Linked DNA regions of Homo sapiens: all the other regions are linked to region 3. The links are contacts of gene promoters, found by promoter capture Hi-C in human tissues and cell types (Jung and others, 2019). All regions are on one chromosome and are shown on one strand. The core of a region is centred on a gene start or on the middle of the fragment in contact, and the rest is flanking DNA. Distances in the headings are between cores, read along the strand shown.

What was found. The method cuts DNA at HindIII sites, captures the fragments that hold promoters and counts their contacts. A contact is called where the count stands out against the background at its distance.
Region 1: a contact is called between a fragment that was not itself captured here and the fragment with the promoter of ZNF74 in region 3, in 2 of the 25 tissues and cell types used here (lymphoblastoid cells and mesenchymal stem cells).
Region 2: a contact is called between a fragment that was not itself captured here and the fragment with the promoter of ZNF74 in region 3, in 1 of the 25 tissues and cell types used here (dorsolateral prefrontal cortex).

The regions. Positions count from the first base shown.
Region 1 is chr22:20,614,045-20,618,182 of GRCh38, forward strand. It overlaps the pseudogene SMPD4P1. Among named protein-coding and RNA genes, the nearest start is that of MED15, 110 kb to the left of the region's middle. The HindIII fragment of the contact is 4,283 bases long and covers 667-4,138 here.
Region 2 is chr22:20,531,646-20,535,231 of GRCh38, forward strand. The region is part of intron 1 of MED15 (mediator complex subunit 15); the gene reads left to right. Among named protein-coding and RNA genes, the nearest start is that of MED15, 26 kb to the left of the region's middle. The HindIII fragment of the contact is 8,855 bases long and covers 1-3,586 here.
Region 3 is chr22:20,392,189-20,395,958 of GRCh38, forward strand. It overlaps ZNF74 (zinc finger protein 74), which reads left to right and starts at 1,963. Exons shown (of 5, transcript NM_003426.4): 1 at 1,963-2,474; 2 at 3,145-3,230. The coding sequence starts at 2,441. RefSeq lists enhancers at 1,073-2,062, 1,464-1,533, 2,004-2,143. The HindIII fragment of the contact is 17,508 bases long and covers 1-3,770 here.

The DNA.
Region 1 (4,138 bases), core at 1,558-4,057, 220 kb after region 3:
CAAAAGATACTACTGATAGAGTGAAAAGAACCAGCGGGCATGATGGCTCAGGCCTGTCATCCCAGTGCTTTGGGAGGCCGAGGCAGGTGGATGGCTTGAGGCCGGGAGTTCAAGACCAGCCTGGGCAACATAGCAAAAAGTTGTCTCCACAAAAAGCACAAAAATTTGCTGGGTGTGGTGGGGCACAGCCATAGTCCCAGCTACTGGGAGTCTGAGGTGGGAGGATCGCCTGAGCCCAGGAATTTGAGCTGTAGTGAGCCAAGATCATGCCACTGCACTCCAGCCTGGGAAACAGAGCGAGACCCTGTCTCAAAATAAATAAATAAATAAATAATAAAATAAAAATAGAAGCAACTCCAGTGTTCACTGAGAGATGAATAGATAAACACAACATGGTACATCCGCACAAGGGAACACTATGCAGCCTTAAAAAGGAAGCAAATTCTGACACATGCTGTAACATGGATTAATCTCGAATCCATTATGCTAAGTGAAGCATGCCAGTCACACACAAAGAAGTACTGTGTGCTACAGAAAAATGCTTTAGATATGAGATCTAGGAGTCAAACATATAGAAACAGAAAGCAGAATAGTGGTTGCTAGGGGCTGCGTGGGGAATTAATTGTTCAGTTTCTTTTTTTTTATTAAAAGAGATGGGGAGCCAGGCATGGTGGCTCATGCCTGTAATCCCAGCACTTTGGGAGGCCGAGGCGGGTGCATCATGAAGTCAGAAATTCAAGACCAGCCTGGCCAAGATGGTGAAACCCCGTCTTTACTAAAAATATAAAAATTAGCTAGGCACCGTGGCAGGTGCCTGTAATCCCAGCTACTCAAGAGGCTGAGGCAGGAGAATCACTTGAACCCGGGAGGCAGGGATTGCAGTGAGCTGAGATCGCACCACTGCACTCCAGCCTAAGCGACAGAGTGAGACTCTGTCTCAAAAAAAAAAAAAAAAAAAAAAAAAAAAGAGAGAGAGAGACGGGGTGTCACTATGTTGGCGAGGCTGGTCTCAAACTCCTGGCCTCAAGCAATCTTTCCCACCTTGGTCTCCCAAAGTGCTAGGATTACAGGAGTGAGCTCTCATGCCTGGTCGGTTCAGTTTCAGTTTTGCAAGATTCTGGAGATTGGAAAGGAAGCAAATTCTGACACATGCTGTAACACGGATTAATCTTGAATCCATTATGCTAACTGAAGCATGCCAGTCACACACAAAGAAGTACTGTGTGCTACAGATAACAACAACGTGAATGTATTTAATACTACTGGCTGTACACTTGGAAATGGTTAAGACAGTAAATTTTATGTTATGTATATTTTACAATTACAGTTTTTTTCTTAATTAAAAAAACGAAAAGCATTAATGCTTTGGTCCAGGAAACAGCAGAACCTTCCAGTTCTGTCCTGTTGTAAGCTTGTGTCATGGTCTCCTGCCCTCTTCACAGCCAGCACATCCCATGGTCCACACAGCCAAGAGCCATCTGGGTATCATGGTCCCCTCTGGGGACCATGCCCCTCCCAGGGACAATGGTCCCTATCATTCTAGCACCCGAGGTTGTTGTGAAATGGTGTGGAGGCTTCAAAAAGCACGGCACCCCACATATTAGGAGTTATGTACAAGGTCGGAGACAGAATCCTATCTTATCTACTTCCCAGGTGTCAACGGCGAGGCTGTGGCTACCAAGTCAGTCCTAGGATCCAGTGTCAGGAGCAGCACCTGCCAAATCTCTCCAAGTTATGCTCAGAAGACACAGCCAGGACCTGGTGGATAGCACTCAGGGAGTGAGCCAGTCCACACCATCGTGAGAGGCTGGAGCCCCCCAGGACAGACAAGGGACTCTGTCACCTACTATTTGGATCCCCTGAATCAACAGAAGGCCTGTGGAGGCTGCACAAACCCCTCACCATTCCGTGTCACAAAAGTGCTACTGGGGCAACGCTTAATATCCACATGATGGTAATCATAGGAAGCATCTCCAGCAACACGAGAGACGGACACCAAGAGACCGCAACAATTATATCACAATGGGCAAATGAAACGACTCCGATGGACAGGGGATCCTGGGATGAAAAACACCATGAATGACAAGTAAGTTAGGTGGGTGGGCAGACTTATATTCATGTTTTCTAAATGTCATACCAGGAAAATGCCAACAATTTAGAATCAGCCCTGGGCTAAGCGGCCGCCTCTGGGACTCTGACCCATATAGTGGAAGATGGCTGACCAGTTTCTTTTGAAACAGACGTTGAGACCAGCTCAGCTCTCACCCGGAGCAGAGTTTCTGACCTCCAGATCTCCTGGGAGGCGGGGTCTGCATTCACAGACATCTGATGAGAGAAGTGTCGCTTCAGGGGGCTAGTGTGCTGGAGGCTACAGGAAGCAAAGGGCATGGCTGGTGTCCTGAGGGAGACACGGAAACAGGCCCAAGGTAGGAGCTCCTGCTGGCCAGGCCAGGGGCGATCTGGACATCAAAATCAATGACAGCAGGGACGTATTACAACTTGTTCAATTGCACAATGCACAAACCTCACCCCTGCCCCAAATCCACACTGATACACCTGAATAAACAAATAGCAAAGAGAAAAGTCTTCCTTCCCGCAGAGCGACCACTGACCCAATACAGGAAGAATGAAGTTAGGGAACCACCACTTGGCAACTGCCCTATTAATAGCTTATTTGGTCAAGAATCAAGTGAGGCCAGGCATGGGACCTGCGTGAGACGCCTGAAATCTCAGCACTTTGGGAAACCAAGGCAGGAGGATCTCTTGAGGCCAGGCACTTGAGACCAGCCTGGGCAACACAGTGAGACCCCGTCTCTACAAAAACATTAAAACATGAAATAGCTGGGCACGGTGGGGTGTGCCTGTAGTCCTAACTACTTAGAAGGCTGAGAAGGGAAAATGGCTCCCTCCTTGGGCCTAGGAGTTGAGGCTGCAGTGACCTATGATGGCACCAACTGCACTCCAGCCTGGGGTGACAGAGCGAGACTCTGTTTCTAAAAAAAATAAGATGTCCAGCTTGGGCAACATGGGCAAAACCCATCTCTATTAAAAAAAAAAAAAAGCATTCAGATGTGGTGATGCATGCCTGTAGTCCCAGATACTTGGGAGGCTGAGGCAGGAGGATCACTTGAGCCTAAGAGATTGAGGCTGCCGTGAGCCTAGATCATGCCACTGTACTTCAGCCTGGGGTGAGAGAACAAGATCCTGTCTTAAAGTAAAATAAAATCAATTTGAAAAAAGGAAAGAATCGACTTCTCTGTGTATGGAGTAGCCCTTCTTCTATTCCTTTACTTTCTTAATAAACTTGCTTTCACTTAAAAAAAAAGAGAAAAGAATCAACAGTTGATGTTAATACTAGTGATAATACATAGTCTCTATACATCTTCCCGGTAAATCATCATTACCAATTTTTCTTTTTTTTGAGACAGGGTCTCATTCTGTTGCCTGGGCTGGAGTGCAGTGCTGTGATCACAGCTCACTGCAACCTCAACCTCCTAGACCCGGGCCTCCCAAGTAGCTGGGACCACAGTGCACACCACCATGCCTGCATGCCTGGCTAATGTTTTTCTTTCTTTGTTTTTTGTTTTTGTTTTTTTTTTGAGACAGACTCTCACTCTGTTACCAGGCTGGAGTGCAGTGGCTCCATCTCGGCTTACTGCAATCTCTGCCTCCCAAGTTCAAGCGATTCTCCTGCCTCAGCCTCGTTAGTAGCTGGGACTACAGGCATGCACCACCACGCCTGGCTAATTTTTTGTATTTTTAGTAGAGACGGGGTGTCACCATGTTTCTCAGCCTGGTCTTGAACTCCTGACCTCATGATCTGCCCGCCTCTGCCTCCTAAAGTGCTGGGATTACAGGCGTGCACCACCACACCCAGCTAATTTTTGTATTTTTAGTAGAGATGGGGTTTCACCGTGTTGACCAGGATGGTCTCGATCTCCTGACATCGTGATATGCCTGCCTTGGCCTCCCAAAGTGCTGGGATTACAGGCATGAGCCATTGTGCCTGGCCAATATTTTTCTTTTTAGTACAAACAAGGTCTTGCTATGTTGTCCAGGCACTCATTACTAATTTTTTTTTTTTTGAGATGGGCTCTCACTCTGTAGCCCAGGCTGGAGTGCAACAGCATGATCTTGG
Region 2 (3,586 bases), core at 417-2,916, 140 kb after region 3:
TCGTGTCCCATCAAAATGCATGACAGTACCACTCCTTGTGTTAAAAAGAGCCAGTTATTGTGCCTGGCAGTGATGACTGCCCACTGCACACAAAAGTGGACGCCGTTGTCTCTGCTCTCAGGGTGTTCTTAGTATAGTGGGGCTGGCACACAGAAACCAGAGATTCCTCCAGGAAGTGCCACAGACATGGGTGAGGTGGCTACAGGGTTTCTGTGCAGCCGACAGCAGGGGTGCCTGGGTGGAAGCAGGGTGGGAGGCCCTAACAGGCCTGATGGGATAGTCAGGCAATGTGCCAGGTAGTAGGTCATCATCCCTGGGGCCCTGGGGAGAGTGTGTGGGGCAGGCGCAGGAGCAGGCTCCTCAGTGGGCTCCTGGACAGGCTGCCTGCTCTGCTGGTGAGGAGCGAGGCTCAAAGCAAGCAGGGGCCTGGGTTGCTTCCCACACTCAGTGGCAGTTGCTCACTGGCAGTCATGTGACCTGGGGAGCTGGCGAGGGCGTGGGGGTAGGAATGGGAACGGGAGACAGAGGCCCTTTGGGAGGAATTGCCACAGATGCAGTGGGAGTTGGGGCAAAGATTTGAACTTTGGAGAATTAAAGGTGGCAGTCAGAAAGTGAAGGGAGTTCCCAAGTTTCTGGGATGGGCACTTGGTGCTGGGAGATGAAGACACGAAGAGCTTTTCTTGATGTATCCCTGCTGGCTGCTCAGGCAGGGTCGGGCAATGCCATTAAGACACACTGTGTTCTGGGAACAGTTCTGGACAGTAAGGACATCCTCAGACCCCTTAGTGGGGGAGCTCCAAGGGCCTGTAATGATGAATCGGTCCCCTGGGAGGCTTCAGTCTAAGCTAGATACCAGTTGAACCCTGACTGAGTACACAGACATAGCTATGGCAACCAGCTAGACCATGGCCAAAGGCAGAGCATTGGAGCCCAGTTCACAGCAAGGGACTGTGTGCTCTGAGCCGGTAACAGTCCTTGTGTTCAGAGGTCTGGCTGGTCGCAACCAGGGAGTGGCCCCCAGCCCCCTTCCTCAGCTAGAGCGAGCACCACCCAGGCAGCCTTGGGTTCTTTGGTGGCCGCCTCATAGGCCTGTACTGTTTGTGAACCTGTTGCTTATGTTGGACAGGACTGTGGCAGGACAGCCATCAAGGGTCTTCCCTTGTGAGCTGACACCAGTCTGCTCTTTGTCCTCCTCTGGCTGGACAGGCCCTCGTCTTCCCGGCTTGCTTGTGTGGGGGAAGAGCTCACTGTGACATGTGGGTTCTCTGTTCTTTGTCTCAGGCTGTGCTCCTTACTCCATGTTGGGGGCTGTCTCCTTGTGTGATAGTTTCCTTTCATTTCGTGACAGTGGCTCGAAGGGTTTTGTTTTCAGGAGACAGAGACTGAGGAGTAGCCATTCGGGTCTGGCTGCTCAGGAAGGCATGCTGGGGATGGCAGCAGAGCCCAGCTCAGGGAGATCAGAAGGGGGCTTTGGGAGCAGCCAGTGCTGTTCTGAAGGTGGGCCTGGGTCCTGCCTGCAGCCTCCCGCAGCGGGTGTGTTAGGTCTAAGGGAGGAAGGAAGGGGACTTGACCTCAGCAGGAGTGTGAAATGGGTACCCTCCTGGAGTCAATGTCCAGGCAGGGGATGCCTCTGAAAAGCGCCAGGCCAGCTGGAGAGGAAAGGGCAGGCATCTGCAGGGAAGTGTGGGGGATTAGCTGCAGAGTTCCTGGGTTCTTTTTCGCTTTGTCTCTATTTTGTGACACTTGATCTTCAAACTAGAAACAGGAGCAAAGACATTTTCAAAAATACAGTTGTCAGAACTGCAAAACCACACAGGGTCTGTTACTGGCCACCAAACCTGCTGGGCCTCCCTGGGTGGATGCTGTGGGAGAGATGTGGGAGTGACATGGCACAGTGCTGCTGTTCTGAGCGGTAGCCTTGCTGGAGGAGCGCCTTGCCGGAGGAGCACCTTGCTCCTTGGCCCCACTCTGACCCTCCGAAGCTCATGTGGAACTGGACATTTACCCCAACTCGGTTTCCTGGTGTTGGCCTGTCAAGACTTGCCTGTTTCTGGCCTCCAGCTTGGTCCATGCTCCTCAGGCTCTGAGTAGCTGACGGTGCCCACAGTGTCCATGTCATCTGTGACATTACCCAGGACAGGACAGGGCCCGTCTGCCAGTACATCCCCTGGTGTATGGTGCCACCTTGCCTTCAGCTCACCAAGCATATTTCTTCAACCTGGTCATCCCACCACCTCAGAGCTATTGCACTAAGCTGTGTTTCTAGATCTTGTCTCTCTGACTGTGCCAGGTGTCTCTGCTGCACCAAGACAGTGTCTGTCTGGGGCCTGCCAGTCTGCTGACACTCTCAAAAACGGCCAGTAGCAGCTCAAAAGGACTGCTTTTGTATCAAAGCCTGGCTTTGCTCTCTGATCGCTGCTGGTGGGCACAGAGCCCATCTGTGTAACTGGTTGTCACTCCCCAGACTCTTCTGCACCCTTCTTCCTCTCTGACTCCTGGCCACATCTGCCACCCACAGCCTCCCCACTCCTTACACAGCCAGCCTCCAGGCCGTCCTGCTTGGCCTGCAAATGCTCCCCTGCTGTTTCTACTGCTCTTCCCTGAGTCTCCCTATTGGTCCCAGTGCTTTGGGAGGCCAAGGTGGAGGATCACTTAAGGCCAGGAGTTTGAGACCAGCCTGGGCAACAAAGCAAGACCCTGTCTCTACAAAAAAAGTAAAAAATAAAAAAATTAGCCAGGCGTGGTGGCGCATGCCTGTAGTCCCAGCTATTTGGGAGGCTGAGGTGAGAGGATACTTGAGCCCAGGAGTTTGAAGCTGCAGTGAGCTGTGTTTGCCCCACTGCGCTGCACCTGTGAGAGAGTGAGACATTGTCTCAAAAAACAAAAGAAGAAAAAGAAAAAAGGAAGGTGGGAAGAACAAGTATGCCTTTGAAGGGCATACCTGCCTTGAGGGGCACAGATGAGGCAACCTTCAGAAAACAGGCCTGTGCAGCCACTTCTATCAGAAATGCTCACTGACTTCTTGGGGCCTAGCAGCTATCGTCTCAGCCTCTGGGTGTGGAGACCCTGCCCCATGCTAACCTGAGAGCATGAGTACAGGGTCCTCCCAGCCCACCCATGCCTCGCTTCCCCAGGACTCTGACCCAGTGCCGCGCGTGAGTTGGTTGTCATTATCCTCCTGGATTGTTAACTCTCTCATCTTTTGTGGCCCTGGTGACCTTTCTTACTTGTCTGTTCCACACCTGGATGCCTTGTGAGCAGAAACCCCTTGCTGCCTCCTCGCCTCCCTTCAGGCTTCAGGAAGCAGACAGGGAGGTAGGAACTCCAAGAGTGCAGGAGTCTCATTCTGTCGCCCAGGCTGGAGTGCAGTAGTGCCATCTTGGCTCACTGCAACCTCTGCCTCCAGGGTTCAAGCGATTCTCCTGCCTCAGCCTCCCGAGTAGCTGGGACCACAGGTGCCTGCCACCACACCCGACTAATTTTTGTATTTTTAGTGGAGACAGGGTTTCACCACGTTAGCCAGGCTGGTCTCAAACTCCTGACCTCAGGTGATCCACCTGCCTCGGCCTCCCAAAGTGCTGGGATT
Region 3 (3,770 bases), core at 713-3,212:
TGATGCATTCACAAACCCTGAGCTAGACACAGGGTGCTGATTGGTGTGTTTACAAACCTTAAGCTAGACACAGAGTGCCCACTGGTGTATTTACAATCCCTTAGCTAGACATAAAGGTTCTCCAAGTCCCCACCAGACTCAGAAGCCCAGCTGGCTTCACCCAGTGGATCCCGCACCGGGGCCGCAGGTGGAGCTGCCTTCCAGTCCCGCGCCGTGCGCCCGCACTCCTCAGCCCTTGGGTGGTCGATGGGACTGGGCGCCGTGGAGCAGGGGGCGGCGCTTGTCGGGGAGGCTTGGGCCGCGCAGGAGCCCACGGCGGTGGGTAGGCTCAGGCATGGCGGGCTGCAGGTCCCGAGCCCTGCCCCGCGGGGAGGCAACGAAGGCCCGGCGAGAAGTCGAGCACAGCAGCTGCTGGCCCAGGTGCTAAGCCCCTCACTGCCCGGGTCCGGCTGGCAGCTCCGAGTGCGGGGCCCGCTGAGCCCACGCCCACCCGGAACTCGTGCTGGCCCGCAAGCGCTGCGCGCAGTCCCGGTTCCCGCCCGCGCCTCTCCCTCCACACCTCTCGGCAAGCTGAGGGAGCCGGCTCCGGCCGCAGCCAGCCCAGGAAGGGGCTCCCACAGTGCAGCGGTGGGCTGAAGGGCTCCTCAAGCGCGGCCAGAGTGGGCGCCAAGGCCGACTAGGCGCCGAGAGCGAGCAAGGGCTGTGAGGACTGCCAGCACGCTGTCCCCTCTCACTGGGTTGCTATTAAAAATGGGCGCTGAATATAAAAATTAACCGGGCGTGGTGGTGCATGTCTGTAAGTCCCAGCTACTCCGGAGGCTGAGGTGGGAGAATAGTTTGAGCCCGAGAGACTGAGGCTACGGTGAGCCGTGATTGTGCAACTGCACTCCAGCCTGGGCGACAGAGTGAGACCCAGTCTCAAAACAAAATCAAACACGGGCGCTGCCCTGGGCAGGGGAGGTCTGGGCACAGCTGTGCTGATGTGGGCAGTGGACAGGTGTCACGTGAGAGCCTGTGGCCAAGCCTAAGCTGCGGTTAAGGTGGGAGGCTGAAGGGTTTGGAGTGTGCACCACCCCGGACCACCTCTCAGTAGGAATGTGGCAATGCACTTCGGTGCTGGATTCCTACTTCTGGCTGTGTGATTTGCGACACGTTACCCCACGCACCTGTACCACAACTTCCTCATCTCCCAAATGGGATGACAGTAGTTAGCAAACCTCCCTGGACTGCTGTGAGCATTCTGCCAGAAAAATGTACTCCAAGCTCTTGAAGTAGGCCTGGCGTTTGGTTGGTGCTCAGTACATATTCAATGTTTCTGTCGCTGGCGTCATCACTGTGTTCATGGCAGAGCTCTGTGCCGCCAGGACTGGGCCGCCACCCAGACCTTCCTTTCCCGCCCCAGGGGTGAACTGTGGACAGGACCCTCTGGGGGGACTAGGCCAAGGCTCTCCCACCTCTGGGGACCCGCGCCCATGGGCCTCAGATATGTGGCTCGAGAAGGGGGAGTGGGGGCAGGGCCCCTGGAAAACCCCTCGAGGCCAGACCCACCACTCCCAATATCCGTAAGACCAGGGGCTTGAGTCTTTCCTGCAGACAGATGTGGGCAGGAACCCACCCGACTCCCAGCTACGTGGGGACGTGGACGAACTAACAGGACAAATTCTAGTTCCTGGACACCGCCCTCCCAGTATCCTCGCAATTAGACACCCATGCAGCGGCACTACACTGATCCGCACACGGAGATACACAGCGACATCCGCCCGCAAGAGCATGGTGGGTGCCGGAGCTCCCGGCTGTGGGCCCAGGAACTACATTTCCTAGAAGGATGTGCTAGATACTCGTTCGCGTCGGGACGCAAGCACCGGCCCGAACTCGCTCTAGGAAATGGAGTCTGACGCCTGCGCGGCGCAAACGCTCCCGGGAGGTGTAGTTTGCGCCTATTTCGCGCAGGCGCGCTTTCCCGCAGCGGCCGCCTGCTGCTCTTTGTGGCAGTCGCAGTCCTTTTGTGGGAGTCCGGTCTGTCCACTTGCCGGTCCCTCAGACCGTCGGCGGTCTCTGTCCGCTTCGGGACCTGTCCGCTGGTCGCTCCGCGTCCGATGGCTCCTGGCCGCGGAACCTTAGGCCTGGCCCTGGTCTCCGAGCGCGGGTTCGCCGGGAGGAGCGTGTGGCGGGGGTGTGCCGGGGCGTGAGTGCGCCGAGCATGGGGCTGAGCCTGGTGTGGGGAGTGGGTATCTGCGGAGCCGGCCTGAACCCCACCTCAGCCGGGCGCGGGGAGGGGGCTCCGTGCGTGTGATCGTGCAGCTGTGAGCGCGTGGCCGCCCCGCGGGGCTCCGCTGCAGGCCCCTCAGCCCCAGGAGCAGTACTCGCTCTTCAGGGCCTGCCCTGGATCCTGGAGGCTACACAGCTGCCCACTCCTCCTGGGGAGGCTGCCGTGGAGGCCATGGAGATCCCTGCCCCGGAGCCCGAGAAGACAGGTACAGCTTCACTCTTGTAGTCAGTATGTCTGTGGATTTGCACTTGAGGATATTGACACTCAGAGAGATCAGGCCAGTTTCCCAGAAGCATCCAGCATCTTTTTTTTTTTTTTTAAATGGAATCTCACTCTGTCACCCAGGCGGGAGTGGTGCAATGGCTTGATCTCCGCTCACTGCAACCTCTGCTTCCCGGGTTCAAACTATTCTCCCGCCTCAACCTCCCAAGTAGTTGGGATTGCAGGCGCGCGCCACCACGCCCGGCTAATGTTTGTATTTTTAGTAGAGACGGGGTTTTGCCATGTTTCCCAGGCTGGTCTTAAGCTCAAGCGATCCGCCCGCCTCGGCCTCCCAAAGTGCTGGGATTACAGGCGTGAGCCATCGCTCCTGGCCTCCTGCTTCTTTCTTCCCCGCGCCCAATCATTTGTTCCCACTCAGACGTGCTTGATTGGGGGTAGCAGCTCTTTTCGTCATGAATTGGAGTGTCTGAGACACAGGCAGATTATTCCTCGATGCTGTTTCTGTTGGTGCTAGCTACTGGGGCTCGTTCCCCACCTGGCCTTGCTGGCAGGTTCTGCCTCCTCTCTGATTCTCACTTGTGCCACGACAGGTGGGCTTTAAGCTCAGCCGTGAGCCTGGTAGCCGTGACCTTGACTCATTTCTCCTTCGCCAGCTCTTTCCTCTCAGGATCCTGCTCTTTCCCTGAAAGAGAATCTCGAGGATATATCGGGTTGGGGTCTTCCCGAAGCCAGGTCCAAGGTGAGTGGCTGTGTGTTCTTCCTTCTTTATGAAGAGGGTTGGCACATTCCCTCCCCAGCCCTGGATCGTCAGCCTTCCACAGACCTTCACCCGGGTACCTGCTGGCCAGTCCTCAGGAAGCTCTGGGCAGTGGGAACAGCTCCAAGTGAAGAGTCCAGATGTTGCCCGAGGTGTGCCCTCGAGATGTGCTCTATTGAATGTCTCGCCCAGTCCAATTCAGTGGGTCAGTTGCTGGGGATCTCTCTGCCCAGCGCTGTGCTGGGAGCTCTGAGGAGTGGTTTTAGTGGAATCTGAGAAAGTAGTTGACGGCTCACATGGGGTCGCTTTGCCTATCCACGTGCTGGCCAGGGGTTGGTGCAGGATGTTTGCACGGTTGGTTTACTGGGACTGGAATCAGACAGGGGCACGTGGAGCAGCTCAGGAAGGGCTGGATTGCAGCACTTGGTTAAGAGTGGCGGTAGGGGACACATCCCTGTGTGCTTTCCTCTGTACCCAGCCCCTGGCATGGGGCCTTCATGGAGAGTCCTGGAGATTTAGAGA